Regions from separate parts of the Homo sapiens genome. Here region 1 is linked to region 2. Evidence: promoter capture Hi-C in 16 types of primary human blood cells and fetal thymus (Javierre and others, 2016). All regions are on one chromosome and are shown on one strand. The core of a region is centred on a gene start or on the middle of the fragment in contact, and the rest is flanking DNA. Distances in the headings are between cores, read along the strand shown. Region 1 has its middle 13 kb from the start of LINC00028. Region 2 holds the start of DEFB118 (defensin beta 118).

Region 1 (2,919 bases), core at 361-2,860, 130 kb before region 2:
TTCAGGCCTGGTGATTCCAGCCTCCAGCAAGACTCCCAGGCCCCTCGCTTGGCTTGGCTTGCAGGGGCTGCTGGATTTCAGGGGCTATTGAGGGCTTGGGCACCGTGGTCAGAGGCTTCACGTGGTTCAGTGCCAGGCGGAGTCCCTGTCTTCCCTCCTTGTTTCTTGTCATGGAGTGGCTTCAGTAAGGATGGAGACTGAATTTCCATGCAGCCCAGAAGGATGGGAGTAGGGGATAGGAGTAGAATTTGCTTTTTGAGAAAATAAAAAAATGAATATTTCTTGCACACTTGAGTTTGGAGGTTAAGATTTAGATCTGATGCAATAATTTGTAATTCTTTTTATTATTATTATTGTTTTGAGATGGAGTCTTGCTCTGTTGCTCAGGCTGGAGTGTAGTGGTATGATCTTGGCTTACTGCCACCTCAGCTTCCCAGGTTCAAGTGATTCTCCTGCCTCAGCGCCCTGAGTTGCTGGGATTACAGGTGTGTGCCACCATGCTCAGCTGATTTTTATATTTTTAGTAGAGAAGGGGTTTCACCATGTTGGCCAGGCTGGTCTCGAACTCCTGACTTCAGGTGATCCGCTCACCTCGGCCTCCCAAAGTGCTGGGATTACAGGTGTGAGCCACCGCGCCTGGCCTCTTTGTATTATTTTAATAAAGTTGTCTTTTTTGGTTTGTCTCTCCTATTAGACTGTGAACTCCTTGAGGGCAGAAATTATGCATGTTGTGTTCACACTGAACTTCACCCAGTACTTCTACTGTCTAGAGAGTGCCCAGCACATAGTAAATGTTCAGTAATCATTATAATTATAACACACATGCATGGGGTACTGATTTGCTTCCCATGCACTGCACTAAACATTTACAAACTCACTTGATCCTCACACCATCGTACGGGGCAGGCATCTCCACTGTCCTCATTATGCACACAAGGACTCCGAGGTACAGACAGGCTAAATAACTTGCCCAAGGTCACAAGCTTGGGTTGCATTTAATAAATATTCATCAAATGAATGGATGAGTGGATGATTTCCTGCAGTGCTCCTTGCTCTCTTTTGCCCTTCAACCTATGCAGCTCCATCCCCTCCATCCCACAGTATCAGAATTGCACAGGTTAGACCCAGGCAGGGGAGTGCCTCAGCATCTTTGGTGAGTCCCTGAAGCCCTGAGACTTGGAGTTTGCAAATGCTTGGTGCTCATTGCTTTTGAGGGCAGGAACAGAAGGACAGAAAGGAGGCGTCAGAGACAACGTCCTTAGCCCTGGGACTGGTGACTGATCCCTTTTAATCTCCTCTGGCTTGTCCTGCTAGGCTACTTTCTCTGTGTTTATTTATTTATTTATTTATATTCTTTTAGATGTGGGGTCTTACTGTATTGCCCAGGCTGGTCTCGAACTCTTGAGCTCAATTGATCCTCCTTCCTTGGCCTCCCAAAGTGCTGGGATTATAGGCCCTACTTTCTCTTTATCCTTACACGTCAACACACTAGGTAGTCACAGGTTCCCTAGATTCTTTTCAGCCTCCCTGCTTTTGCTCAAGATCTTCCCTGTGCCTGGGACATCCTTCCAATCCTGAGATTCCATTTTTCTAAAAGAAGATAGCGGGAAGGTAGGCCAGTTCTTTAAACCATGGCCATTCCTTGTTTGGTTATACTGAAACACTAGATTGCGTCTGGTCTCTGGCAGTCTTCTGATGGTGGTGGTGGTGGTGACTGTAGAACGGTATCCTCATCCCCTTGTCTTTGGTGGGGATACTGAGTCCCAGAGAGGAAAAGGGACTTGATAAAAACAAAACAGGGGATCAGACTCGGAGTGATTCTAGACTCAGAGTGGGGCAGCAACTTCTGCCTTACACAGCGGATGGGCCCGACCCCCCAAAAAGAGCTACTCAGTTCTGAGCATAGAGCCTGAAATTCCACCATTGGAGATTATTTCCTTTGGAGGGCAAAGGATGTTGAAGGCTCTTTGGTCTTCAGGGAGCCTCAGCCAATGTTGCAAACCCCTGCGATGAGTCCTACACAAAACTCATGTCAGCCTGTTCCCAGGAGGATGGGCTGGCTGACAGGCAGCCAAGGGTGAGATGCCGTGGGAAGGAGATCCTGACTGAGGGCTGGAGGAATGTGGGAAGCACCAAAGCAGGCAGAAAAATGGGGATAGGTGGGGGAGGGGCGGTGTCAGCTGTAGAGAGGGTGGGGCTGCTGTGAGAGCCTCGGGTGGGGGACTCAGGAAGCTTGACTTCACTGCCAGCTTGCTGTGTGATGTTGGGCAAGTCTCTTTCCTACTCGGAGCTCTGATATGGGTTAGTGCTATGGAACAGACTTGCTTCTGGTTTATCTTAAGGCTCTTGGGTGTCAGAAAGTTGGTGCCCCGGGGTAGTGGTTGCCATGGCAACTATCTCTAAGGAGATAGTGACCAAGGAGACTGTTGCCATGACTATGGTGACCAGGTAAAGAGCCAAATGATTGGTTCTCACTTCTTTCTTGAGACAGGTCCCTCCCCATCACTTCCTTCCATTACCTGCTCAAGTTCAGTGTGTGGGGTCCAGATAAACTGACACCTAAAGGAAGTGTCAGGAGTCAGGGACCTGCATTCTAATACCTTGTTTTACACTGCCTGGCAGTGTGACCTTGGGCAAGTCTCTGCTTCTCCCTGGGCGTTAGTTTCCTCATCTGAAAGATGAAGAGATTGCACAGGGCCTCTTCACCTCTAAATTTCTACCATTTGCCTTTAAACAGGAGACAAAGTTGTGATCCAAAGGGTTGTTTCCAGGAGTGATATGAAAAGTAGTAATAATGGTTGTGACCATCACTTACTGATGATCCACATAGCCCTGGGTGGCCCTGCCGTGGTAAGGGTACTACCCCTTTAATGGCTGTTAAGGGGAGGGGCCCTGGAGGCTTCCAGAGGAAGGCCTGGA
Region 2 (3,137 bases), core at 417-2,916:
TGGCAATTTCTGCTGGCAGTGTCCTTTAAGATACACAACTTCTGATTACTGACTTCTGGTTACCCAGAATCCCTTGGGGTAGGAACACAAGCATAGGAAGAGCCAGCAGCAGGAGTTTCATGGTCCCTGGGAAACAGGAGAGGTTTCCCTGTTTCCCTACCCTGAACGCCAGGGTAGACCCAGGCGTTCAGAACGCTGTGTGCAGTGGGAGTCTGAACAAGAGTTATTGGCCTCTCTGCAATGAGGGCAGAGGAATAGAGGAATTAATGGAACAAATATATATTTTTAATTTTCTTGCCCACCCCCACCAGACTTACATTTAACTTGGTTATTTGCCCTCTAGGAATCTATCCTATTTAAGCCCATATCCATATATGTAAATATATTAATGTTTGTACAAGCATATTCATTGATGTCTTGTTCGAAAATTAAGAAATGTCTCAAATGGCTATATATGACTTTATATGGCTTATCCTACAGCAGAACTATACAACTTTACAAACAATAAGGCAGATCTTTAGATGGTGACATGGAAAGATGGCCACAAAATAATAAGTGAAAGAAGAGTGCTGCATAGGGCCGGGTGCGGTGGCTCATGCCTGTAATCCCAGCACTTTGGGAGACCGAGGCGGATGGATCACCCGAGGTCAAGAGTTTGAGACCAGCCTTGCCAACATGGTGAAACCCCATCTCTACTAAAAATACAAAAATTAGTCGGACATGATGGTGCATGCCTGTAATCCCAGCTGCTTGGGAGGCTGAGGCAGGAGAATTGCTTGAACCCAGGAGGCAGAGGTTGCAGTGAGCTGAGATTGCGCCACTGCACTCCAGCCTGGGTGACAGATTGAGATTCCATCTTCAAAAAAAAAAAAAAAAAAAAACACAAGAGTGCTGCATAGCCATGCAGGGAGTGTGCTTACTTCGTTATAAAACAGAAATATTTAGATTCATTTTTATGTAAGTTCGATCATACATTGAAATGCACCTTGAAAAACATAAAGGAGAAACAGGCTCTCTTCACCAGTGATTTCAAAGTTCTGGTCATGCCTTTAGATATACTTAAGAAAGCAGTGATTATGAAAAGCTTAGATTTTCACTGTAGAAGGAAGAAGAAAAGCCAGTTCTGTCTTCCGTGTAACAGCTCTACCAGTGTTTTCTGACTTGTTCACCAAATTCTAGAATATTAGAAAACAAAAAGAACCTCATTATAGCTATAGCAGGACTTTTAGGGCCAAGAAAACATAGCAAAGTGGGCTGCAGGAATCATTTTCAAAAGCTGGCACAATCTGGAAAGAGAACAGATGTGAGCCGAGCTTTCCCCTAGTTTCTTAGGCGGCAACTTGGAATATAGAACCAAGGACAACTCTGGATGGTGGGACTGCCCCTGTCTATTGAGGATAACTTGCTCTACTCCCAGGTTTTACCCCAGCCAGGAGCATAGTCCCAGTGTGGGAACTGTGGAGCTGCCCATGTTGGGGAGTACCGTGACACATTGGAATTTTCATGAGCCAGAACCCACTATACCTCTATTTTTGTATCTTCCCTGACCTCTGATTACCTGGGATCACTTGGGGTAGGAGCACAAGCATAGGAAGAGCCAGCAGCAGGAGTTTCATGGTCCTTGGGAAGCAGGAGGTGGTAGATCCAGGAGTTCAGAATACTGTGTGCAGTGTGAGTCTGAACAAGAGTTTTATTGGCCTCTCTGCAGTGGGGGCAGAGGGATGGGCACAGAACCAGCCGGATATCTAAGAGCTTATCCATGCATAACATCAGTCTAGTGTGTGGCACATAAGCTGAGCATTTGATCCAGGCACTGGGAGGGCATGCAGAGGGTTACAAGTCACAGGTTTTGAGGAGGTGTTTGGAGCAATGGAGAGGGAAGATTCACACTGGGACATCTTCCCTAGCTTTCCCCGATCTCTCATTAGGGCTCAGCCCTTCTTCACAGCCCCTCTCACTCTAGCATAAACCTACTTTTGAATGGTCTACTTATCTGTGTGTCTCCCCGCACCAGCCTGTGAAATTCCTGAGAGTAGGGAACGTGTCTTTCATTTTTGAGCCCCCAAGGCACGAAGCATGCTCTCAGTGAAGGTTTGTGGAAATAAACGATAATGAACACATGTCAATCTATAAGCCAAATCCCTCTCTTACATATGTGCCCAACAGGGAAAATGACTTGCCCAAGAAGTCACTTGCTGCAGAAGTTTGAGGGAGATCATTTATAAGACTCAAAGGGGGATGCTACCCAATGTCATTAAAAAAAAAATTCCCTAGCTGGGTGTGGTGGTGGGTGCCTGTAATCCAAGCTACTCAGGAGGCTGAGTCAGGAGAATCGCTTAAACCCAGGAGGTGGAAGTTGCAGTGAGCTGAGATCGCACCACTGCACTCCAGCCTGGGCAACAGAGTGAGACTCTGTCTCAAAAAAAAAAAAAAAAATCCCTGCTGAAGACAGATCTACAATAATTTGGGATGTTACCTTTGACAACGGCACCATGAGGGTCATCAGAGGTCTGGGAGCTGTCCATGAAGACCCCAACATTTAGACTTGCCTTTGGGATGTGGAACCTCGATGTCACCCCCAGAGTCAGCCTAGGTCCTGCATTGCTTTAGTTGCATTTTCATCGTGTTTCAACTTTTGCTCCCTCTTGTTTACTCGGCTCTAAAAGTCTCTGTAAAGCTTTTACAGAGGAGGTTGCTGATTTTTCTCTTCTGGAATTGATAACTTTCACTGTGAGAATAATTGATGGGAATTAGCAGGGTTGCCATGTGATTGAGGAGACTTCTCTTCTGGATGGAACCATGTGGAAAGCGTAGCATGGTGGTGGGCTATTTTCAAATTAATTTTGTTTTATGTTTTTATTTTTTTGAGACAGGATCTCGCTCTGTAGCCCAGGCTAGGGTGCAGTGGTGCGATCACAGCTCATTGCAGCCTCAAGCTCCTGAGCTCAAGCAATCCTCCCACCTCAGCCTCCTGAGTAGCTGGGACTGCCCAGGTATTCACCACCATGCCCGAATATTTAAAAAAATTTTTTTGGGAGAGACAGGTCTTACTATGTTGCCCAGGCTAGTCTCAAACTCCTGGGTTCAAGTGGTCCTCCCTCCTTGGCCTCCCAAAGTGCTGGAATTACAGGCATGGG

The links. The method cuts DNA at HindIII sites, captures the fragments that hold promoters and counts their contacts. A CHiCAGO score of 5 or more calls a contact.
Region 1: a contact is called between a fragment that was not itself captured here and the fragment with the promoter of DEFB118 in region 2, in 1 of 17 cell types (M1 macrophages). The highest score is 5.1, in M1 macrophages.

What each region holds. Positions count from the first base shown.
Region 1 is chr20:31,497,542-31,500,460 of GRCh38, reverse strand. No RefSeq gene overlaps it. Among named protein-coding and RNA genes, the nearest start is that of LINC00028, 13 kb to the right of the region's middle. The HindIII fragment of the contact is 1,249 bases long and covers 986-2,234 here.
Region 2 is chr20:31,367,130-31,370,266 of GRCh38, reverse strand. DEFB118 (defensin beta 118) reads right to left here and starts at 1,666. Exons shown (of 2, transcript NM_054112.3): 1 at 1,559-1,666. The coding sequence starts at 1,616. The HindIII fragment of the contact is 1,593 bases long and covers 1,087-2,679 here.